7 separate regions of the Homo sapiens genome follow, and regions 1, 2, 3, 5, 6 and 7 are each linked to region 4. Evidence: promoter capture Hi-C in 16 types of primary human blood cells and fetal thymus (Javierre and others, 2016). All regions are on one chromosome and are shown on one strand. Each heading gives the region's core, a stretch centred on a gene start or on the middle of the fragment in contact. The rest is flanking DNA. Distances are from core to core; before and after follow the strand shown. Region 1 overlaps SLC39A8 (solute carrier family 39 member 8). Region 2 overlaps SLC39A8 (solute carrier family 39 member 8). Region 3 has its middle 17 kb from the start of SLC39A8. Region 4 holds the start of BDH2 (3-hydroxybutyrate dehydrogenase 2). Region 5 overlaps SLC39A8 (solute carrier family 39 member 8). Region 6 has its middle 89 kb from the start of SLC39A8. Region 7 overlaps SLC39A8 (solute carrier family 39 member 8).

Evidence for each region. The method cuts DNA at HindIII sites, captures the fragments that hold promoters and counts their contacts. A CHiCAGO score of 5 or more calls a contact.
Region 1: a contact is called between a fragment that was not itself captured here and the fragment with the promoter of BDH2 in region 4, in 1 of 17 cell types (fetal thymus). The highest score is 5.3, in fetal thymus.
Region 2: a contact is called between a fragment that was not itself captured here and the fragment with the promoter of BDH2 in region 4, in 4 of 17 cell types (total CD4 T cells, activated CD4 T cells, total CD8 T cells and 1 more). The highest score is 6.3, in total CD4 T cells.
Region 3: a fragment that was not itself captured here is called in contact with the fragment with the promoter of BDH2 in region 4 in 4 of 17 cell types (fetal thymus, naive CD8 T cells, total CD4 T cells and 1 more); the score reaches 8.1 in fetal thymus.
Region 5: a fragment that was not itself captured here is called in contact with the fragment with the promoter of BDH2 in region 4 in 1 of 17 cell types (total CD4 T cells); the score reaches 5.8 in total CD4 T cells.
Region 6: a contact is called between a fragment that was not itself captured here and the fragment with the promoter of BDH2 in region 4, in 7 of 17 cell types (M2 macrophages, non-activated CD4 T cells, naive CD8 T cells and 4 more). The highest score is 11.1, in M2 macrophages.
Region 7: a fragment that was not itself captured here is called in contact with the fragment with the promoter of BDH2 in region 4 in 4 of 17 cell types (naive CD8 T cells, M2 macrophages, total CD4 T cells and 1 more); the score reaches 6.0 in naive CD8 T cells.

The regions. Positions count from the first base shown.
Region 1 is chr4:102,332,669-102,336,205 of GRCh38, forward strand. The region is part of intron 2 of SLC39A8 (solute carrier family 39 member 8); the gene reads right to left. Among named protein-coding and RNA genes, the nearest start is that of SLC39A8, 11 kb to the right of the region's middle. The HindIII fragment of the contact is 3,813 bases long and covers 1-3,537 here.
Region 2 is chr4:102,313,925-102,317,125 of GRCh38, forward strand. It overlaps SLC39A8 (solute carrier family 39 member 8), which reads right to left. Exons shown (of 9, transcript NM_001135146.2): 3 at 1,744-1,906. Among named protein-coding and RNA genes, the nearest start is that of SLC39A8, 30 kb to the right of the region's middle. The HindIII fragment of the contact is 188 bases long and covers 1,379-1,566 here.
Region 3 is chr4:102,360,997-102,364,314 of GRCh38, forward strand. No RefSeq gene overlaps it. Among named protein-coding and RNA genes, the nearest start is that of SLC39A8, 17 kb to the left of the region's middle. The HindIII fragment of the contact is 1,240 bases long and covers 719-1,958 here.
Region 4 is chr4:103,097,716-103,101,251 of GRCh38, forward strand. It overlaps BDH2 (3-hydroxybutyrate dehydrogenase 2), which reads right to left and starts at 2,119. Exons shown (of 10, transcript NM_020139.4): 1 at 2,068-2,119. The HindIII fragment of the contact is 3,413 bases long and covers 1,236-3,536 here.
Region 5 is chr4:102,297,741-102,301,030 of GRCh38, forward strand. All of the region lies in intron 6 of SLC39A8 (solute carrier family 39 member 8), which reads right to left. Among named protein-coding and RNA genes, the nearest start is that of SLC39A8, 46 kb to the right of the region's middle. The HindIII fragment of the contact is 6,511 bases long and covers 1-3,290 here.
Region 6 is chr4:102,255,223-102,258,628 of GRCh38, forward strand. It overlaps a transcript of SLC39A8 not described here. Among named protein-coding and RNA genes, the nearest start is that of SLC39A8, 89 kb to the right of the region's middle. The HindIII fragment of the contact is 1,386 bases long and covers 845-2,230 here.
Region 7 is chr4:102,277,164-102,280,572 of GRCh38, forward strand. The region is part of intron 6 of SLC39A8 (solute carrier family 39 member 8); the gene reads right to left. Among named protein-coding and RNA genes, the nearest start is that of SLC39A8, 67 kb to the right of the region's middle. The HindIII fragment of the contact is 3,854 bases long and covers 1-3,409 here.

The DNA.
Region 1 (3,537 bases), core at 535-3,034, 770 kb before region 4:
TATACCCAAAGGATTATAAATCACTCTACTTTAAAGACACATGAACACATATGTTTATTGCAGCACTTTCACAGTAGCAAAGACTTGGAACCAACCCAAATGCCCATCAATGATGGATTGTATAAAGAAAATGTGGCACATATACACCATGGAATACCATGCAGCCATAAAAAAAGGATGAGTTCATGTCATTTTTAGAGACATGGATGAAGCTGGAAACCATCATCCTCAGCAAACTAACACAGCAACAGAAAACCAAACACCGCATGTTCTCACTCATAAGTGGGAATTGAACAATGAGAACACATGGACACAGGGAGGGGAACATCACACACTGGGGTCTGTCAGGGGCTGCGGGGCTAGGGGAGGTATAGCATTAGGAGAAATACCTAATGTAGATAATGGCTGATGGGTGCAGTAAACCACCATGTCACGCGTATACCTAAGTAACAAACCTGCATGTTCTGCACATGTATCCCAGAACTTGAAGTCTAATAAAATAATAAAATGTGTATATATATACATATATATGTATTCAAGACTGGAAGAAATGTAGAGGAAAGAGATATGTGAGGCAAGACTGGATGCAGAGGGCGGCAGCAGTAACAGAGTGTATGTGTATTGAATACTTACAGCATGCCAGGCAAAAGACAGAGTGGCTAGACATATTATCTGATTTCATCTCTACTACAATCCCATAAGGTAGGTACAATTTTCCCCATTACACAAAGAGGATGTTGGAGCTTCAAGAGATTAACTAAGAGATATTTATAAGTTATTATGACAAGACTTATGTGCATTTGATATGGGAAGGGGAAAGAAAAAGTGAGGAGTCAATATTAACATCCAGTTTCACAGCTTAGTTCAGTGAGCAGATAGTAATACCTATCACTAAGATGGGCAAAACAGGAATACCAAAAGGTTTTGATGGAGAAAGAGATGGAGTTGATGAGTTTTGTTTGAGACAGGTTTAGACCTGTTGAGTTGGGGAAAAGAAAAGAGTTAGACATCAATTGTCAGCTGGGTGCGCAAGGCTGAATCTCAAGAGAGAAATCTGAAGTAAGCCAACTCATGTAGAAAGCATCTACAGATAGATAATCACAGCCATATGAGTCCTTGAAGATATACAGAAAGAGTGTGTGACATCAAAATAAAACAGGCTCGAGATGGAAACCTGAGGAGCACTAATATTTAAAGAATGAGCAAAGGAAATCAAAATTGAAAAGCAGCAGCCAGAGAAGTAAGAAAAACATGGCACAAACAGCTGCAAGCAAGGAAAGAATGTGTTTCAGGTAGGATGTAATCAACACCAACAAAATTATCAGAGCGGTGAGGCCTGAGAAGCACCCACTGAACCTAACAATAAGGTGGTTCCATGTGACTTGGTATAAATTTCAGGGAAGTGGTGGGGACAGAAAAAAGCCAGAACCAATGGTTTGAATAGTGACTGAGAGGTGAGAAAACAGAACAGGCATTCGCACCTTTCTATGGTCCAGTTATACACAGTAAATGAAACACAAAGATCATGGAATATTCAGGTTAGTCAGAGCACCGTGGCCTTGCTAATACAGCATCTGATTAAAGTTAGCCCAAGGAAAAAGAACTGAGGATTCAAAATTGGAATGTCTGGTCTCCCAGAAAAATCTGGGGACTTTGTCTAACTTTTACCAAATGACTTATTCGTATCTCAGTTTCTGGGGGAACTGATATGTCCCAATTTTCTCACAATATTGTTTCGAGTATCAAATGTTAATTGTCAGGAAATAACTTTGCAAGGTTAAAAACTAGTTTGTAGAGGAAGTAATAATGAGTTTTAGGGCCGGCCCTGATTATTGCAAGTACAACTTTAACAAGGGGAAGAAAAGACATTTTTTCCCTCTTTTCACTCAAACAAGAGGGGAACATCAGCAGAGAACATATGCCAGCTTCAAATAAATGATTGTACAGTTCCCAGTGGCTTCAAGAAAATGGCATTAGTTCTACCTTGACATTCAGGCACTTGGATGACACAAGAGGCACTTGGCTTTTTGGAAAATAAGTCCTTCTGTGGGATGATACTCTTCAGCATGAGAGGCAATAGTGGAAAGTGCATCGGTTATAGAATCCAGTCACCCTGGAATGGAATATGTGCTCTGCCAATATGAGTCATCTGATTTAAAGTGAGTTACTTAACCTACCTAAGGTTGAGTTTCCTCAAGGGAATAACAAGAGTGTTTACTCCATGGGATCAGGAGGTTTAACAGAATGGTGTATAAAGAAGAACTGAGCAGGATGCCTGGAACACAAGAAGTGCTCCGTAATTGTTAGTAAATATTCTTACTAGGACAGGACCTGTTTCCTCTGCCACAGTAAAGGCCCTACCCACAACATTTACTTAAACAGCGTTCATCCCAAGACTAGAGACAGAGCCAGTGTCTAGCTGTTCATGCTAATGTGTAGGTGAAGTAACCGAATAATATACTTACGTTCTGGGGAACTCTGCTCCTGAAGAAAACTGTAGAGCATTATGATTTAACATTCAAACTCTATTACCTGGTACCATCATAGCATGCATCTCTTAACATAAGGGACTGCATGTTTTATAGAACATATGATGAATATTTATATAAAGCAGGAACTTTTGCCAAGCTCAGAATCGGTGTACTGATTTTACTGTTCGCTGAAGTTCGGGCTAACTTTCTGTTTCCCTGTCGCTGAAGAGATACATCTCTCACTTCTTCCAGTTAGACTAAAATAATGCTCATTCTCTTATCTGTTTTCTATCCAACAGGGTTCAGCTAAATGCAGAGGGTCCTGGATTCTTCGGCTTGCAAAACCCATATAGAGGTCCATACAGATTTAGAAGTAGATCTCAATTTAAAACCGCAATTCTATCCATTTCTGGAAGTATTATATGGTTCCCCAAACATTCACATTTCAGTGGTGATGCCAATCTGGGGCAAAAATAATAAAATAAAGCCAACTTCTAAATGTAGCATCAGAAGTCCTCTGGAAGGGAGGTAATAATTTCAATGCACATTGAAGTACTCAAATTATTTTATTAGTCTCTACTCCTAAGGTTTACATTTTCAAGAATTTACTACCAGTGTTTGGAGAAAGGGAAGTGGAGGTAAACTGTAAAAGCCTCTCTGAAGGTGAGTCACCATGGAAACCAAGACTGAAATCAAAGGCACTGGACTGACTTATTTCTCACTGATCTTTTTTTTCATTAATTCTTGCTGTCTTTTCATGGCTGTGCTTTCTTCTTTTAGTTGACAGACGCTTGGGTGTTCAGATCATCAATGGAAGACAATTTTGTTAAGGATAATGTAGCTATATCGAGTAACATACTATTATGATGATAATAACTATGCATTGAGCACATAATTTGAGCCAGGCCCAATGCTAAGTATTTTACATACATTGTCTTTTGTATTACGTATTATTGGAAGCAATATAGGTAATGGAAAAAAGTCTTATATCTTTATTGAGTTGGCACGTATAACATACTGAATATATAAGTGCCCGAAATATGTTAAATGCTCAATAAATGTTAAT
Region 2 (3,201 bases), core at 223-2,722, 780 kb before region 4:
CCCAGTCTTGACCTCTCCTCTGAAAGCAATCTCCTCTCCAAATGTCTGTGTGCCTTTGCCTACTGGACCTCCCTGTCTACCTGTGTATGTCAATGTCTCAAAGCAACCACGCCAAAAATTATATTCTTTATCCTCACCACTCCCTTCCTCTACAATAAAGGGCTCTTCCCAGTCTTCTCCATCCCGGGAAATGGTATAACGATCTCTCCGGTTTCTCTGGCTCAAGACTTGACTCATTGTTCCCTCTCCCACAATCAATCCAGGGCAAACCATTTAGCATGATCTCCAGGACTCATCCCGAATCTACTGCTTCTCCCCACTTCTACTTCCCCCACTTTAGTCCAAGTCCCCATCATCCTGGCATCAGCTCCTGGCAATCGCTTCCTGACCAATCACCCTGCTTCTACTCTTGCCCCATTACAATCTGTTCTTCAGATTGTAGGCAGGTGGAATGCCCTTTTAACAGATTTGAATGAGATCACAGCATTCCCCTGTTTAGAATGGTACAGTGACTTCACACTACATTCAGAATAAAACCCAATCAATTTACCACCTCCCGCAAGGCTTCCTCACCTGGTCTCCATCTCCCGCCAGGACATATATCCTTCTACCTTCCCCACCAACTCACTAGGCTCCAGACACATAGGAGCCTCTTGCTGCTCCTCACTCATGCCAAGCTCATTGCCAAGCTATGTTGGCTGTGCCCTCAATCAAGAATGCTCTTCACTAGAGACGACCTTGCTGTGGCCCTCTCCTTCTGCTCAGATGATACCTCATCAGAGAGGGCTTCCTTGATCTATCTAAGATGACACTCACCCACTATCACCTTCTATCCCTCACCTACTAATATTTTATTTTCTTCATAGCACCTTTCACTCTGAAACTATGTTGTTTATTTGCTTGTTTAAATTTGCTTGTTTAAATCTTCTCCACTACACTGTAAGCCCTAAAAAGACAGATAATTATTCTTCTTGTTTACCATTGACTCCTTAGTGCACAGAACAATACTTGGTATGTCGTTCAATAAATATTTGCTTAATGAACAAATGAACGAAACTTTAAAATTCCAACATAATTTTCAAACAGACTCCCTGAACAATTGGTTTATCTCATTGGTGAAAGTGACCCTTCTACACATTTAAGCATGTGAGCTGTATATTAAGCATACATATATTTTATTATGGTTTAAAATTTCTTTGCATCAGATCATACCGTTAAAGTACATATTCATGGAAATACCATTATAGTCACTTAAAATAGTCTCTGGTATTTTCTTTCACCTATGAAAATTAAAACTAATAATTTGGTCCCTGAAAATTTAATCTAGAAGCATGCTAGTTCTCTTATCTCTTCATTGGTAACTGCAGATAAACTGACAAGCTTTAAAATAATATGGTAAGCAAAAGATAATGGAAATGAAATGATCAATTATAAGCCAAAGAAAATGCAATCCAATATGCACAGCATAAAATATATATTGTTTAAAATCAAGAACTGGATTTTATAAAGTTTTTAAGTGTACTAAATGTAATTTTGATTCAACAAAGAGAAGAGCATAACTTATGAAGCTTAAATGAGTTATAATTCTTCTTATTCCAAATACTTTCAAAATATAAGTATTATTCGAAGAAGTTCTATGTAGATTAATTAAAAGCAATAAAGCAGAAAAAGAGGCATATTAACTTCATTTCACAATGGTTCATAGACTTTTCAAATAAAAGAGAAAAAATGCTTCTAATATACCTTCTGAATGACTTGGTCTTGTTTTGTGCTTGGGCCGATCCTCACATGGGTGAAAGTTCAATTGCTGTAAGACTGCTGGACAGATGACAGAGAATTTGGAGCTGGTTATTTGGGTAGCATTTGAAAAGCCATGAAGGGAAAAGATCTCTTCAGCAGTTAAACACTGAAATAGAATAAACAAAAAAAAAATGTGATAATAATGTGTAAAAGCACATAAGCAAAGATGCTATAAAGAGACACAGACTATTTCATCTAGATGCACAGCACTCTTTATACAAAAGCCCACCACAGAAATTGAAAGGCCCCTAAAGTTGTAAAACAGCCCACACCAGTTTAAACCTAGAAACAAGAAAAATAGAAAAAAAAAAATCCCTTCTTAATCAACAGCTTTCCTACAGCAGAAAATAAATAAGAATTGGTTTGGGCATATCTAAGGACTTTATTTAAAATAGGGGTGCACCAACACCATTCAAACAAAGGGTTTTAAAACAATTTTTTATTGTCAGTACCCCCTCTTAGTTTACTTTTCTTCAGTTTGAATGGATATTTTGTGTGTGTCACTGGCATGGCTCTCTATAGCATTTCTTGTAGACAAATACCTGGCTCCCTACAGTTTCATGCTAAGAAATTCCTCTCTTCTCTACACTGCAATAAATATAAATATAAAAAGTTGTTTTAAAATATGTCTTTTGCACAAACTGTTTTTCATTAAAATATGCATTATTCTCAATGACGTTGGGTAACTTTTCTATATTAAGTTTTGAAAATAGTGCTGGGCTGTTTAGAAATTCATTAACTATTAACAAGGACTAGAATCTACATTAGGAAAAAAACTGCAAAAATAATTTTTTAAAGGTATAATGTTGTTCTCACATTTTAACTGTAAGCTCTTCCATATACAGTACTTGCATTATTAAGAAAAATATAAAATAAATGCTACTGAATGTCATAAGAATTATAGTGTGAAAAATATCCATTCACTCAAATGGAAGAGTCTGTCTTTAATAAACGTAATTTAGGCAAGTTATTTGCATGCTTCAGCCAATGCTTAAACCCCAATAAGACCTTAGCTATGTACTATGATCTGAATTATGTCTCCCCAGATTCACATGTTGAAGCCCTAATCCCCAGTGTGATGGTATTTGGAGATGGGGCCTTTGAGAGGTAATTAAGTTTAGATGAGTTCATGAAGTTGGGGCCCTGGTCCAGTGGGATTAGTGCACTTATAAAAAGAGACATCAAAGAGCCTGCTCACTTGCTCTTTCTCTGCTATATGAGGAAGCGAGAAAATGCTCTCTGTGACCCAAGGAGAGAGCCCTCACAGACAGCAACCATTCTGGCACCTTGGTCTGGACTTCAAGTCTCCAACTATGAGAAAATAAATTTCTGTTGCTTAAGCCACCTAGGCTTTGGTATTTTGTTATGGCAGCCTGAGCTGACTAATACACTATGAATGGT
Region 3 (3,318 bases), core at 89-2,588, 740 kb before region 4:
TACCTCAGAATGTGACTCTATTTGGAGATAAGGCCTTTAAAGAGGTAATTAAGGTAAAATGAAGTCACATGGGTGGGCCCTAATACAGTATGATTGGCATTCTTATAAAAAGGTGAAATTCAGACACAGACACAGAGGAAAGACTATGTAAAGACAGAGGGAGAAGATGGCCATCCACAAGCCAGGGAGAGACCTGAGAAGAAATCAATCCTGTCAGCAGCCTCCAGAACTGGAAGGCAATATGTTTCTGTTTTTTAAGCCATCCAGCCTGTGGTATTTTGTTAGGGCAGCCCTGGAAAACTAATACACTCCCTCTGATTAGACTGTGGCTCCTAAACTCATTACTGTGGTGCCAGCTCTGAATGCCAGACTGTATCCCTCTACCTACTGGATGTCACCACATGGATGTCTCAAAAATATTTCAAGAATTCAATGTATGTTGGCTCATCCAGTTACCTGTGCCAGAAACATGGTCACTGTATTAGACCCTACTTGTACCCCACATCATATCCTCTTAGCCCACCTCTAATTGTAGTTTCACTTCAAGTCATTCTCTCATATTTTTTACCTCAGGTTTTCTTTAGAATTCTAATAACCTGCTCAGCAGCTTTCAAGCATAGAGGAGTTAACATCCCTGGAGGCAACCCTAAACCAAAGAGAAATGAGAGTCAGAGAAGAAAGGCTCAGTCTTCAGTCTTTCAAAGGGTCACTTCTGAAAAGCTTTCAACATGGTTTCTCAGGGAATTCCTACAATATGTGCCCCAGGGTTTTACAGCAATAAATAGTTCAATAATGCACCCTTTACTGGCTTTCTTCCTTCCCTGAATTAGATTTTCTCCTTCCCTAACACACTCTCCTCATTCTGTCACTCTTATTTCTTGGGATCATCTCTAAAATAAACTTCCTGCATCCCAGTTATTGACACAGACTTGCTTTTAGGGAGAAACCACACTAAGAGAGTCAATATCATTCCCTTATCTTTCTCCTTTATATACCCTCTCTGGCCATCAATTATCAAGCCATAGTAATTCTACTATGGTTTTCAAATTGATCTACTCTCTTTAAGTCCACTGCCTTTATCTTAAGATAGGCTATCATCAACTCTTAACTGGATAATTTGCTGTCTTCTGTCTCCCTGCCTTGCAAATTGTCCCTTACCAAGTTATTTTCCATGGGGAAGTCAATGTGTGCTTTCTAAATGGACTATCTAATCCTACTCACTCACAGTAACCTTCAATTATTTCCCATTGTCTTTAATATGAGTTCCTTAATATGATTTTTGAGGTTTGTCCTAATAAAGACCTAGTTTTCCTCCACAGTCACATCTCTCACCATTCCTACTTCTTACTTCATACACTAATCACACTGAGCTACTCTCAGGTCTCTGACCAGCCATGTGGTCTGTCACCTCAGGACCTTTGCACATGCTGCCTCTTTCTCTTGAGATGCACTTCTTCATTCCTCATCTCCACTTCCAGCTTCTTACTACTTCTAGTTTAGACCGCATTTACTCTTGAAAATCTTCTCATGTTAATTTTTGGTTAAGTGCCCCTCCTATGTGTTCTTAAAACATTACACTGTATTTTAATTACCTGTCTAGATTTGTTTATGTCATCTATTCAATTAGAGTATTTGAAGTTTTCTATTTCTCATTGTGTCTAAAATGCTCCACATATTTTAGGTATTCAATAAATACTGATAGAATAAATGAATTAATGAGTAAAATAAAAATGTTAAATAATGTTAAATTTTTTAACAACAAAAAAACTGGCAAACAAATTTTCAAATCATATAAAAAGAGCTGAAGGAAAACAGAAGCAAGGTGGATAAATAGAAACCCTATAAAAATCTAGGACAAAAACCCTATCTTCAGAAATCTTTGCTATCATCATTGCCATAACCATGGATACACGCCTACTCGGATTTTTTTAAATGCATTACTTAGAAAGCAATTTTAAAGCTTATACTATAAAGCAGGCATTTTTAAATGGAAAAATTAAGTCAATCCCATATGTTAGTCTGGAATGGCATTTTATGGAGATGGCTTTAATTTATGAACTCGCCCAATAGAACTGCAAGGTGTTGAACAGAGCTAGCCTTCACTAAGACTTAAAAGTACATAACATCTGTTCCAGGCCTTTGACTCCATAATCTCTCACCCTGACAACACCCTTTCTCCTCTTCCTGCTTATGCTGCAGGTCCTTGCTCTGAAATCTGAAGACTCCTGAGTCTGCCCACTGCCACACACCTTGGTGAATGTAAGAGTCTCACCAGGATTTCCTGGTGAATTTCTCTTCCCAGCTATCACCCATGTAAACAGTATGTTATTACTGACACTCCCTATACTTCCACTTTGTTGGATGCAAACAAATACAGCATTTGAGCGGACCTGTGGGGATTTCAGGTCAGCTGAAGTGAAGAGGTTGGTTTCCCAGGAAATCTACAGGAAATACATGGAGGGCAAGGCACAGCCTTGATGAACCTTACAAACTGCTCTCAGTGAGTGGTTCTCATCAAGGAAGCCTCAAGATGGTGAAGAATGCATGTTCTAGCTGGGACCCTGTCAGCAGCGCATTGCTACCACCAAGTTAAAGTTATTTCCAGCACAAACCAGTGTTGTTTTGCTCAAGAGAATGCTTAATCCCTACCAGCCTCTTAGCAACCGTGTGCCATTATTCTCAAGAGAAGGGGCAGGGCAGGAACAATATTACCCCATCACTGAAAAACCCTCAAGTTGCAGAACATGCTAATGATGAGCTGGTAAAAACATTGCCATCACTAACTATATGAGAAAGCCACTATAGAAATCAGTTCCTTAAAAACACTGTAAGACTGCATGATTATTTTGATTCTCAATTTAACAGGCAATAACTTTTACTACAAGTAAACTTTGGTTTGATTCCAAAGAATAGCTAACGAGATCATGCAAATTTCAAAAATACAATTCCTTCACTTATTCAACAGATATTTTTGGGGTGCCTAGTAGACACTCTTCTGTGTACTGAAGAATCATCGATGAACAAAACAGGTTGCCGGGTGGTGGGGAGGAGAAGGGGAGGGGATGGTTAATAGGTACAAAAAAATAATTAAAATTAATGAATAAGTCCTAGTATCTGACAGCACAACAGGGTGACTATCGTCAATAATAATTTAATTGTACATTTAAAAATAACTAGAAGAATATAATTAGATTGCAACACAAAGGATAAATGCTTGAGGGAGTGAATACCCCATCTTCCATGATGTGCATATAATATTAAGTGGGGAGAAAAACACAAGAATACAAAACTATAGAATATAATACTTGAGCTTATAAG
Region 4 (3,536 bases), core at 869-3,368:
AGCTGCAAAGAGGTTGGAAGTTGAGACTTTTGTTTCCAGCTTTGATAAAGTGAAGAATAGGAGAAAGTGAGTTGGATGGTGTTGATGAACCAACTTACAGTACATGCAAACTAGCCTACACAATCACTCTGTTCCATTATCTGCCTGATTTTGTACAGGTTGATAGCCTTGCCTAAAGGGCTTATATTACCTAGTCCTTTCTCTTTGAACTTATTTCAGTTCTCTCTTTAGCCAAACTTTTTTTTTTTTATACCCAATATGCTCTTCCATTTCAAACCTCCACACTTGGTCCAAGGTCCACATGGTGAAGGGCAAGTTACTCCTATAGGCAACAGCCACTGAAGGATTTATGGAAAGGGTGTGAAATGATCAGATTCGTATTTTGGAAGGACTGCTGTGGAGAACATACCTGGGCAGGAGCATGGGGTGCCATTAGGAGGCTGCTAGGGTTATCTAGTGGGGGCGCTGGTGAAATAGCAGGGCTGGAGAAAATAGCAGGGATGGAGAGATAGGTGGATTGGAGAAGTGTTTCAGAGATGAGATAGGTAGGACCTGATCACCAACGTGGCTAATTTCAAAGAAATGTTATTTGCCCAGTGTTTTGCAGCTATGAATTCAAACCTAGGCCTTCTTGTTGCAGGTCCAAGGGAAGATCTCATGGCATTGTCTCATGGTACTCAAAGCCCTGCGGGCCTCTCTAAATCCCCACTGTGGCACCAGGAGCCTGTGCCTCGCAGACCGCTGACCCCAGGAAGTAATGGACAATGAGGCGCAGCTGCTGCTGCCTCTCTGGGTTTGTGCTGAGGCCACCTTCTCGGGGCCGTTACAAGCCAGTGCCTGAGCATGCATGCTTACTAAGGCAGACTCATTTCTGGGAGACATAGACCTCCTCCCCAACGGATGACTGGCTAGAGAAGCTCCTTATTACCTTGCTGAAGTTCTCTTAGACTGCACAGCTGTCTGGGATGCTTCCACTCAACCTGGTTTCCTTCTTTTCCTCCCTCGCGGGTGGACTTGCATCGAGGTCTGATGGCTCTCACAGCCTTACCTAGTTCTCTCCTCATTCTCTCTCACAACAGCATTTCCCCTAATAAAATCCATGCATATTTAATTCTATCTTGGAGTCTGCTTCTTGGAGGAGCAGACTAACACAATTATGTAAGAACTGGCTCCAGGGATCAGCTTATAATCACTGACTTCCTCTGAGTTTGTCCACATTTTTTAGGCGATGGGGAAGCTTGGCTTTAACAGTGCCTGACCTACTTTGATGCAATGAATTTTTGCTTTTTTACTTCTTACACAAAAGATAAACATGGAATGTTTATCATTTCAACATGGAATGACAGTTTCTAAAGTATAACTTTAGAAAGATATACTTTATCCTCCTTGAATCCTAAGCATGGTGCACAAAAGCTATTTTACAACACTGTCATTAGTGATATTGGGTGTATGGCCCTGTAAAGCCTCCAGTCAAAGGTTTTGCTAGGAATCTTTGCCAACCGAAGAAGCACTTCCAGAACAAATGCCGAAGCACAGAGCAGCCTTTCTATGCACTCTGAAAACCTCCTCTTAGCTGGCCTTCCTGTCTTTCTGGGACCAGATTTTGGGGTCAAAGCCTTAACATTTGATAAACTGTAATCTCAAACTAAAACAGATTTCTTTGAGAAAATGAGAGCAAACACGGCCTGAAATGGTAAAACAAGGCACCTCTCAATATATCCAATGTGAAAACCATACATGTTGGCTTCCTTAGTCCAAAAGTTAGAATCAAAATGTTGATTTTTGATTAGCAGAGACACAAACAGCATATTCAGGAAGCCATTGTTTTCAAGAGCCAGGAAGAAAACTCTTCACTTAGGATACCGTAAGAATCCTTTTTTCTTGGGCTACTTTATAAAACATACATACCACAGAGTTTCAGGCTCTTTAAAAACCCATCTTTACACTGATCTAACTGCTCAGATTAATTTTGAAACAGGCAACGTGCAGAAAAAAACAACATCTAAAAATTAAACCTCCCCTCTTTCCGTTCTAAAGTTTCATTTCAAAAGTATTAGGAAATCTTACTTTAAGCAGCGAGCTGATGGCGTTCTCCAGAACTCGGTTTGAGCAACAAACTTGAGACAACCTTTGTCTGGAAGCAAGTCAAGCGCTTAATAATGCATGCTGGGATTTGTAGTTTCCCTGCTTTCAGAGTTTAGTGGCTCCATCCATACACTTTATAAATGTATGTGCTGCCATCTAGTGGAATTCAGGTAGAACTATGAATTCCAAGTGGAAGGTGAAAAGTGGAAAAGCACCTTAGAGCTTACTTAGGATGCGGAAATCATTTCCTTCACTTCAGTCTCTCCACTTCTCTGTTTTGTTTATGCCTACTATATGCGGTGCCAGGGTAGACGAGATTGGCTGAGCTGGAAACTGCGTGTGGAAGATAGCAGAGCAACAAAATAGAGGGAACCCAGGTCACTGAAAATTCTGGAGCCTTCCTGTCACTTGGCCTGGATTGTTTTAAGGGAGAGAAATAAAAAAAAAAATCCTTTTTGTTTGAGATACAGTTGTGATTTTTATTTTTTCATGCTCAGAATATTCTAACACTAATGCACATTTAGTGGCAGAATGCCAGGAGCCTTTTACTACACTGGGAATGGGGTTGGGGAGAACGTGAAACTTGGATGACAGGGTGGAGGCTTAAAAGGGAACATGTTAACAGCGAAAAACCCCAGTTTGGCTGAAGAGAACAGAGATATAAGGTCAAAAAGAAAGGACTAGATCTCATGAGCCCTCTAGGTTAGGATAGCAACATGTGCTTTATCTGTAGTGCCAGTGAGCAGAGTGATTGTGTAGGCTACTTGTACATGTACTGTATAAATTGGTTTCCTCAGCACCCATCCAACTCACTTTCCCCTTTTTTCACTTGTCAAAGCTGGAAAACAAAAGTCTCTACTTCATAGCCTTGTTTGCTGCTAGGGGTGGCCAAGCAGCATAGATGTTGCCAATGAAATGCAGGTGGGAATTTCTGAGGAGGGCCTCCTTCTTAAATAGAAAAGTAAGCCCTTCTGAAAGGCTTTTAGCTTTTGCTCCTCCCTTTCTTTTTGCCTGGAATGAAGATAGGATGCCGTGGGACAGAGCAGCCATTTAGTGAGTTCATCTGAGGCCAGAGGCACACATTAACGACAGGGACCAGCAAGAGAAGGAGCCTGCGGCCCTGATGACAGCCTCAAGGCAACAACTCCTCTGGACTTCTTATGTGAGGACAATAAACTTTAGTGTTTTTCACGTTTTTTGTTACATGGAGCTAAGTGATTTCTAACAGTCACAGGGGATAAGAACAAAGACTGTGGCGTCAGTAAGACTAGAGCAAGTCCCATATCTCTCTCTCACTAGCTAAGTGAGTAAATCACTTAAATCTCTGAACCTCTTATGTTTCTCATCTGTAAAATGAAGGTAAAATAGCACCTACCTCAGGGATGTGGTGAGGAGGAACGACTAAGCCTGTGAATCCATCAGCACAATGTTTGCCACACAGGTGCTTAATA
Region 5 (3,290 bases), core at 148-2,647, 800 kb before region 4:
ACCCCATTTCTACACAAAAAAAATTTAGTTAGCCAGGCATGGTGGCATGTGCCTGCAGTCTCAGCTACTTGGGAGGCTGAGGTGGGAGGATCCCTTGAGGCTAAGGAGTTTGAGATTTCAGTGAGCTCTGATTAAGCCCTGCACTCCAGCCTGGGTTATGGAGTGAGACCCTGTCCTAAAACAACAAAACAAAACAAAACTGGAAGAGGCCACAGGAAAGATGAGAATATTTAGAGGAACTGGCCTTAAAAAGGAGAAAGGACACCAGTTCTGGCACAAAGGGGACAGTGGAGAGAAGATGAGGACCCAGAGTAGTTTTTTTAAGAAGTAACAGAAGTAATGAGGTGAGACAGCAGAGTTCACACATTCCAAATCATCATCTCAGTCTCCTTGTTAAAGTAAGAAAATAAGAAATAAGAATTTTGTGGAGTAATAAAAAAAAAACTTTAGAACAGTTTTTCATGAATAAAAGTATACTTCATATCAGTGAAAGTAGGCTAAATTCAGTGGATTCAGGTACCAATTTTCATGACCTTAGCAACACATAGAGTAAAGCCAGATAAAATGACCTGTCCAGGGCAGGGATGCTCTGAGATAGACCCAGTGAGAGAGAAATTCCACTAACAGCAAAGACAACCCAGAATTTCTCCTCATGATTGGCTATATCATCTGCCTCTAGTTACTGTTTTTATGTAAGTACCAGTCAATCAAGATCAGTGGAAATCATTTCTTATGTCATTTTATTATTTGTATAGTTTTCTATTTTAATTAATTGTTATTATAGGGGAAATTAACTAATTTCTGTTTTTAAATCTTGTGATGTTCAAGAACTATATGATTTAAAATAGTAAATGGTCTTTTAGTGAAATAGTGCAGACCAGATATACATATTTATCTCTAGTCCATCCTGAAATGCCCTCTTGAAGCTATGTCCTTATAAAGGAATAAAGACATAAAACTGCAAGGACAGGAGGAAAGAGAGACAACATGACAGCATTGAGATTTGTATTTTGGAAGATGGAAAGAGGAAGGCAAGTTCTGACTGACTTCACAAAGAAAGTCAACAAGAAGCAAAGTGATGCAGGACCCAGAACCTCAAAAAAGTTCAGGGATTAGAGGCACCAAGTACTTCTGAAGGCAGAGGGCAAAGACCGGAACTAAACATAAGAGAAGTGGCTGCAAGTCTATTTAGGGAACAAGTAGAACCTCAAGTCCTTCCTCCCAAGCCAATGTGGCAAGGCAGCCACCCCAAATGATGACTGGAGATCTACCCCTGGGGAAAGTGAACTAGAGAGACCCTCAATTCAAAGACACAAAGCAAACTGAAGACAGTTGGGAAGTACAGTACTAAAGAAAGGGGTGTTATGTCAAATATTCTTAGTGCCCCAGTCCCCTTCTCCTCCCACTCCACTTCCCAAGTGATAGCCAGTAATATTCTACCCTTCTTCCCACCGCCAGGCAAGAATGGAGAAAAACACACCACCCAAAAGACTGGTAGACAAGCCCCATGCATATATGTACACACAGAACTTCCAGTCAGTTTTTTTTGTATTTCATACTTAAAAAAAAAAAAAGAGTGCTTTCCATTTTTCTGTGCAAAATGTGTAATATTTCAGTTATGTTATGGAAGGGTGGAAAGTTTGGAATCTGTGAACTCTGCTGTCTCACCTCATCTGTTACTTCTTGAAAACTGCTCTGGGTCCTCATCTCCTCTCCACTGTGCCCTATGTGCCAGCACTTAGAATAATGCCAAGTATATGTTAAGTACTGGAAAAATACTTGTTGAATGAATTATGTGTATTTAAACTCTCATGGAGGCCCAACCACCTCAAAAATGTTAGCATTCTATTCATAGAGTGTCACTTCATATCAGTCATCAACAAAGAAAATCTCCCTAACATCTCCACACTTTGCAGCTAAATTCTATTTTATTGCACCTCAACTTTACACATAAAATTCACAATAATCAACTTCTAAAAATCACTTTATATTTAATAGTATCTATTCTTAAATGAAAGCACAGGAAATTTCATAAAAAGAGAGACTGATGACAGATTGCTGGAGGAACGAGCTCCAGGGTCCCTCTAGTGGCCTTGAAGAGCTGACACCCTCCCCAAAGTACCAAACATTCCTCAGCAATCAACATCCAACAAACACCAAGGCTGTGTCTGGGCTGGGGAGCCCCACCCGGCTGCAGAGATAGTGAAATGACTCCACACTTGGCTACACAGGAACGTCGAAGAGAAAAACACAAAGCATGTCACAAGGTGACATGTGACACATTACCTAGTAACAATAACTGAATAACTGGGGAAATAGCATCTTGTGCACCCCTCTTTTTCCTACATCTTCCTTTTTACCCCTCTGTGACCCCCACTTTTCCCCAAAAAGCATGCACGTGCCCACACGCATGCCACATAGACTGTTGTGCCTCACACTTAGTAGGCCTGGAGCAAAGGTATTAAGGAACTCTCAAATCATTTCGTCTAAATATTTAAAAGTTATAATCAAGCTAACTGTTAAATGTTAATATCTTCTATTATTTCACTGTGATAAATATGCTTCCATGAAAACAAAATAAAAACATATGTGTAAAACTATGATTTTTATATGACTAAACACAGATAAAACACCAGAGACTTCTAAATTTAAATATTATTGCTTAGCTGAGTATTCTGTAATGAGCCAGAATTGCTTGGATGAATAATAAAGACATTCCTAAGTCATACAGTTTAAGTATTCTATAACATGTCTTTGTTCTTTCTACATTTCAGCAAGATCAAAAATTATGCTTTTATAATCTAGATTTTCACATAATTTACATTCTATTGACAGTAATGCCAATTAGACCACCTTTCTTAACTCACTGTAATTTTTAGAGAGTTCCTTATTATTTTCAATTTGGAAAAACTTTGTTGAAGCAGTGACAGCCGGGATTGTCAACAAAATTCTTAAATCCATACTTGTAACTCAAATTGAACCCTGAGTTATATTATCATGTTCAATCCTTTTAATGGGGTCACCTAGGTTAGATTATTTTTATAATATAAAATATTAGAAAGTATTTTAATTTTATTATTAAAATCACTATCACTTATATTGTAATACTTACTCTCTTAAAGCAATATCCAGACCTACTTATTTCTTAAATTTCATTTCTTTTGATTTTTTGTGCAATGTAAACAAAACTGAAAATTGCAGTCTGTTGCTCAATTTGTTTAAATGTCTATTTATTTGAGACTATACCTTCAACCAAAATAGCGAGAAAATAGTCCCCATAAGAAATTAAC
Region 6 (3,406 bases), core at 288-2,787, 840 kb before region 4:
ACTGCTGTATTAATTAGAAAAATTGTATTGCAAGAAACAGAAACCCAAATCAAATTAGTTAAAGCCAAAAAGGACATACTGAGATACTAGAATAACTTGGGTAACTTACAAAATTGAAGGAACTAAAGAAAAATAACTGAAAAGTACTAAGGATGTCAGGAACTAGAACCAAAGACAACACAACTCTCTCCAATCAGTCCCCATAGCTTCTACTGTTTTCTCAGCATCCATCTCATTTTCCCGGGTTTCTCCTTGTGCCAGGAACATGACCACCAGAAGCTCTGGGGTCAAATACAAGAGGCAAGAGTTTTGGCTCTCCACATCCTTAGAAGTTTCTGTGTAAAGATTACAATTGACCCAGACTGGGTGACTTGCCCAGCTTGTGGCAAATGGGTGAGGTTAAGTGCATTGGTTGACAATCTCCAGTAGGGGTTGGGAGAAACCAGTTTCTAAAAGGAAGAGTGAAGCTTTTACATGGACAAGGGCAGAAGTCAAGGTATGCAGAAACAATCAACAGAAGTGCATTACTCCAAACATATCCAGCAATGATTTTAATACCACTTTCACCAGTTTTGTCACCACAAAGTGACAGGACAACCCAGCTCCTAACTTATACAATGTCATCTTTATGACTATTCTAAAATGCTTTGAACTTTTTCATCTTAAAACACCAAAGGATCGCTATGACAGCGCAGGTGCTTTTTCTCACGTGCATCCTTCTACGAAATGCTTAGACATGAATTCTGAGGCTTACTTTTCACAAATTAAAAGATTTTTTCATGGAAACACAAAAGATACAAAAAGTAGAAAGATCCATATGAAGCACCTTCCTCCACAGTTTCTAAGCTTCTAAAATCAATGTTTCCCAGTTCATTAACAAGCTCGTACATAATTATTAGAGTAACACCATTAAGGTTAGCACATACAATGACTCCCAAAGAAAAAACATTGTCTATTTATAAGCATTGCTGTGAATGGGTGGAACGTCTCAGCAATACAGTCACAAGCAGCAGTCCCGGTGTTCTCACTCAGATATTCCACGTAGCACTTCATAGTATGCTTTAAGTGAGGGAATGTGACCTATAGATACATCTACACGAGAAGGATTCCCATAAGGCATAAACTGTTCAATAAACAATCATAAAAATATATTCATTCTTCCCTATCTAGAAATCTATGTCTTTATTTAAAAATACGTGATGATTCATGCTTAAGGACGTGTTGTTGGACAGTTGGTTACAGTCTTTTATCTAGTCAAAAGATTCTTATCTGCCAGAAATGTGATAAGTCCACTTATAACTAGTCTCTCAAAACATCCTAGATATTTTTCTCTGTATGCATAGTTAATCATACAAATTAATCTAACCTAATGCCATCTTGTTACCCTAAAATGTTTAATGATAATGGCTTATCATCTTTCATCCCCATAAATTTTCTCCTTGCTTTCAGTGAGCAGCAACTTCACTCCCATATACGCACTTGTTGTGTATTCCTTCTCCTGCCAAATTCACACAGTCACCTCCTCTTCCAGGATAAGACGTTTACTGCTGATAATCACAGCCACAGGGGAAACAAAGAACTGCCATGCTCAAATGAGGGTAAGGTGAGGCAGGTCCATTAATTTACAAAGGGACTGATTACAAACATGCAAGTGGGGTGCAGGGAAACCACAGGTGATGCTACATGAACGCAGGGCTGAAGACAGTAGAGCTGTTACTACCCCTAGGCCAAAGGGACAGAGAGATAGTGGGCACCAAAACCAAAGGAGGGGAATCTACAGGCAGGTGCTGGCCCAGCAACAGTTTTTTAGATGAACTAGGTACGGAAATTGAGAATAAGCATTTATAAACTTCAACAGTAATCCCAAAGAATAATTGTGTCTAATAAAAAATGAGGTTTATCTAATAATAAAAATGGGGTTGGATTTTCTATGTCTTTTTTTTTTTTTCCAAGATGGAGTCTTGCTCTGTTACCCATGCTAGAGTGCAGTGGCATTATCTCGGCTCACTGCAACCTCTGCCTCCCGGGTTCAATTCTCCTGCCTCAGCCTCCTGAATAACTGGGATTACAGGTGTCCGCCACCACCCCCAGCTAATTTATTTATTTATTTTTAATTGTATTTCATTTTTCTAGTAATTTCTTTGAATTCTATCTATTTACAGAAGTGCCAGCTATTGATAAATTGGAAATAAGGAAAACAAGCTGGGCCTTAGCCACAGATATTGTAAGAAGCTTTTCTGTAGAGAAGGCCTTCTTGGGCAAAACAGGCAGCCCAAGGATACCCAGTAGGAGGATAGTCAAGGAAATTGATACTCTATCCTTCCTCTCTTCACTTCCTCCAGTCTCTTGTCGAAGTTCTCCATTTGGCTATACCCACTGAGGTCCATGTGGGTCAGTCTCTGGAGGCAAAAAGCAGGATACAGAAGGGTGGAGAGTGGATCCCCATCCTGTACAGTTGAAAAGTCTATGTCCCCAACATTGCAAATGCACGAAGTCCCATCACCACAGAGTGATGTCATTTAGTCACGGAGTAATGTCTCCCTGTGCCACTTACCAACTTACTAACACTGAACTCCAAATTCACTCTAAATACATGCTCTGTCATAATGAACAGAATTCCTTTAGCACCCATCCTTTACAGTGAGCATGATATTGAGCTGTCTCAGTAGAGGGCGCTGGAGGGATACTGCAACAGGAAAGGGCTCTCCTGCTGTTTGCAGCTGCTGCAAGAGGTCAGCAGTGTGGGTGGGAGGGCTTTTGTCATGCTCTTCCCTGGCTGCATCCCTGAGCATGGGGTTCCTTTGCAACTTCTCAGCTGCAGCCTGGCCTAGCATTAAAAATAGAACCCATTACACAGGTTTGTTGTAAGTAAGTGTTTTTTGTTTTTTGTTTTTTTTTTTGAGACGGAGTCTTGCTTTGTCACCCAGGCTGGAGTGCAGTGGCGCGATCTCGGCTCACTGCAAGCTCCGCCTCCCTGATTAACACCATTCTCCTGCCTCAGCCTCCCGAGTAGCTGGGACTACAGGTGTGTGTAAGTACTAATTTTTAAAGGGCAGATATAATCAGTATATTAACATGCAGTTCTCACAGGGGTAACTAAAAACAACTTTTAATTTTATTCCTCACTGTCTGCTTGGGAGTGAAGGACTGGCTAGCCCTTCTCCTACCCCTGGATGAAACTTGGGGTGGCACAATGGCTGTTCTCACACAGGACTTTGGAGGGAATATAAAATCCTACAATTACTTCAAGACACAAACATAGTCTCAAGTCAGTTATTGAAAATGTCCAATCCAATGCATCAATCAGTAATTCAATTTGTATTCAAAGGTAAGACTTCTGGGAAGGAATCCTTCTCTTTTATTTCCTTACTCCCCACTGTTCACTAATTGGCTTTTGGCCCTTCCA
Region 7 (3,409 bases), core at 292-2,791, 820 kb before region 4:
AGGGGTATTCAAATAGGAAAAGAGGTAGTCAAATTATCTCTGTTTGCAGATGACATGATTATATATTTAGAAAACCCCATCATCTCAGCCCCAAAACTCCTTAAGCTGCTAAGCAACTTCAGCAAAGTCTCAAGATATAAAATCAATGTGCTAAAATCACAAGCATTCCTATACACCAATAACAGACAAACAGAAAGCCAAATCATGAGCAAACTTTCATTCACAATTGCTACCAAGAGAATAAAATACCTAGGAATACAACTTACAAGGGATGTGAAGGACCTCTTCAAGGAGAACTACAAACCACTGCTCAACAAAATAAGAGAGGACGCAAACAAATGAAAAACATTCCATGCTCATGGATAAAAAGAATCAATATCATGAAAATGGCCATACAGTCCAAATTTATAGATTCAATGCTATTTCCAACAAGCTACCATTGACTTTCTTCAAAGAATTAGAAAAAAACTACTTTAAATTTCTTATAGAACCAAAAAAGAGCCTGTATAGCCAAGACAAGCCTAAGCAAAAAGAACAAAGTTGGAGGCATCACGCTACCTGACTTCAAACTATCCTACAAGGCTACAGTAACCAAGACAGCATAGTACTGGTACCAAAACAGATATATAGACCAATAGAATAGAACAGAGGCCTCAGAAATAACACCACACATCTACAGCCATCTGATCTTCAACAAACCTGACAAAAACAAGCAATGGGGAAAGAATTCCCTATTTAATAAATGGTTTTGGGAAAACTGGCTAGCCATATGCAGAAAACTGAAACTGGACCCCTTCCTTACACTTTATACAAAAATTAACTCAAGATGGATTGAAGATTTAAATGTAAGACCTAAAACCCTAGAAACCCTAGAAGGAAACCTAGGCAATACCATTCAAGACATAGGTATGGGCAAAGACTTCATGACTAAAACACAAAAAGCAATGGCAACAAAAGCCAAAATTGACAAATGGGATCTAATTAAACTAAAGAGCTTCTGCACAGCAAAAGAAACTATCATCAGAGTGAACAGGCAACCTACAGAATGGGAGAAAATTTTTGCAATCTTATCCATCTGACAAAGGGCTAATATCCAGAATCTACAAGGAACTTAAACAAATTTAGAAGAAAAAAACAAACAGCCCCATCAAAAAGTGGGTGAAGAATATGAACAGACACTTTTCAAAAGAAGACATTTATGTGGCCAACAAACATATGAAAAAAGGCTCATCATCCACTGATCATTAGCGAAATGCAAATCAAAACCACAATAAGATACCATCTCATGCCAGTTAGAATGTCGATCACTAAAATGTCAGGAAACAACAGATGCTGGCAAGGCTGTGGAGAAATAGGAACACTTTTACACTGTTGGTGGGAGTATAAATTAGTTCAACCATTGTGGAAGACAGTGTAGCAATTCCTCAAGGATCTAGAACCAGAAATGCCATTTGACCCAGCAATCCTATTACTGGGTATATACCCAAAGGATTATAAATCATTCTACTATAAAGACACATGCACATGTATGTTTACTGCTGCACTATTTACAATAGCAAAGACTTGGAACCAACCCAAATGCCCATCAATGATAGAATGGATAAAGAAAATGTGGCATGTATACACCACGGAATACTATGCAGACATAAAAAAGGATGAGTTCATGTCCTTTGCAGGGACATGGATCAAGCTGGAAACCATCATTCTCATTCTCAGCAAATTAACACAGGAACAGAAAACCAAACACCGCATGTTCTCACTCATAAGTGAGAGTTGAACAATGAGAACTTACGGGCACAGGGAGGGAAACATCACACACTGGGGCCTGTTAGTGGGGTGGGGGGCAAGGGGAGGGATAGCATTAGGAGAAATAACTAATGTAGATGACGGGTTGATGGATGCAGCAAATCACCATGGCACATGTATACCTATATAACAAACCTACACGTTCTGCACATGTATCCCAAAACTTTAAGTATAATAATAAAAAAAAAAAGAATTCTTGCCTCCTGTCCCCGAAACCTTGGACTTGATGAGTTTGATGGCCCTACTGTCCAAGGCAGTAATTCTTATACCAGGAAACATGGTCATTTTCTGATTCACTGGAAGTAGAGACTAACTCCTGGCAATTTAAATTTATTTATGGCCCTGAACCAACAGAGATGAGAAAGTCACTATAACTAGCTAGGGTAATCACACCTAATGATCAGGGGGAATTGATTTTCTGCTACAGAATGAAGACAAGGACAGTGCTTAAAACTCAGGGAATTCAGTGGGATGCCTCTTAGTACTCCCTTCCCGATAGTCCTGGTCAAGGGAAAATAGCAACGATCCCCCAATAAAAACAAGACTACCAAGCACTCAGATCTTAAAGAAATGAAGATTTCAATTGCCCTAACTGGAAAATGACTCATCCAGTCAAGGTGATGTCAGACAGTAAGGTAAATACAGAAGGTATTGTCGATGGGGGGGCCCTATAATGAGCAGTTTAGGCCTCATGACCAGCTCCAGAAGTGAGCTGCAGCTATAATTAATGTTCCTTAATTGCATCCTCTTCTCCCAATATTTTATATGAAGAGTGTTGCTGGGGACCAATATTTTAGTCAGGTTGCAGTATTAGTAAAAGACATCATGGGAATGATATGGTAGTTGATGGGATTTTGTGCATACCCTGTGTTAGGAACATGCATTTGTCAACCACATGGAGGACAAGATTGGAGGTTGATAGAGAGAAAAGTGGTAGAGTATTCAAGGTATCTTTCATTTCTCCCTCCAGATCCGCTTTCCGCTCTTCTTTCCCCATAAGACCTGCAGGCACTCTATCAAAGGCCCTCATGTCCAGGTGCTCAGCAGGTTCCAGACAGTGAGCTCTAACAAAATTGGAGGGAAGGAGGAGTGGGGATCGGGATATTTATTCCCTTGGCTCCCTCCTTGAAGGTTAACTTAGGCTGGCTATGTCCACAACTAAAGATCACTGTTCCACGTACAGTAGCTTTCTACACAAAACTAGCTCCTTTCAAGTTCTAGAGAACCTTTTTTCTTCCCTTTTCCCTTTGGTCATAGGTTGTTGACAGCTCCACTGTTACTAGCCTCAGGTTACTGCCCTGTGGTTCACCTACACTGTGCTCAGAGTTTTACAAAGTGTCTCTCCCCTATTTATTATTTATCCTTATTTGAGTAGGCCATCTCTCTCTGGAAAGGATTTGACATATCCAAAGTCTAATGCTCATTCCACAACACAATACTATGAACTATATATACTGTTAAATAAGTTTTCATGAAAAAAGTAACAAAAGGATTACATAGACATGAATATATTAAAAAGAGTTAAACGCATTCTGTAAACATAAAGTTTTGATAGGCTTTGCTTTCATTACTAGGTTTTCCAGTGATAAATGTTTGTATTTTA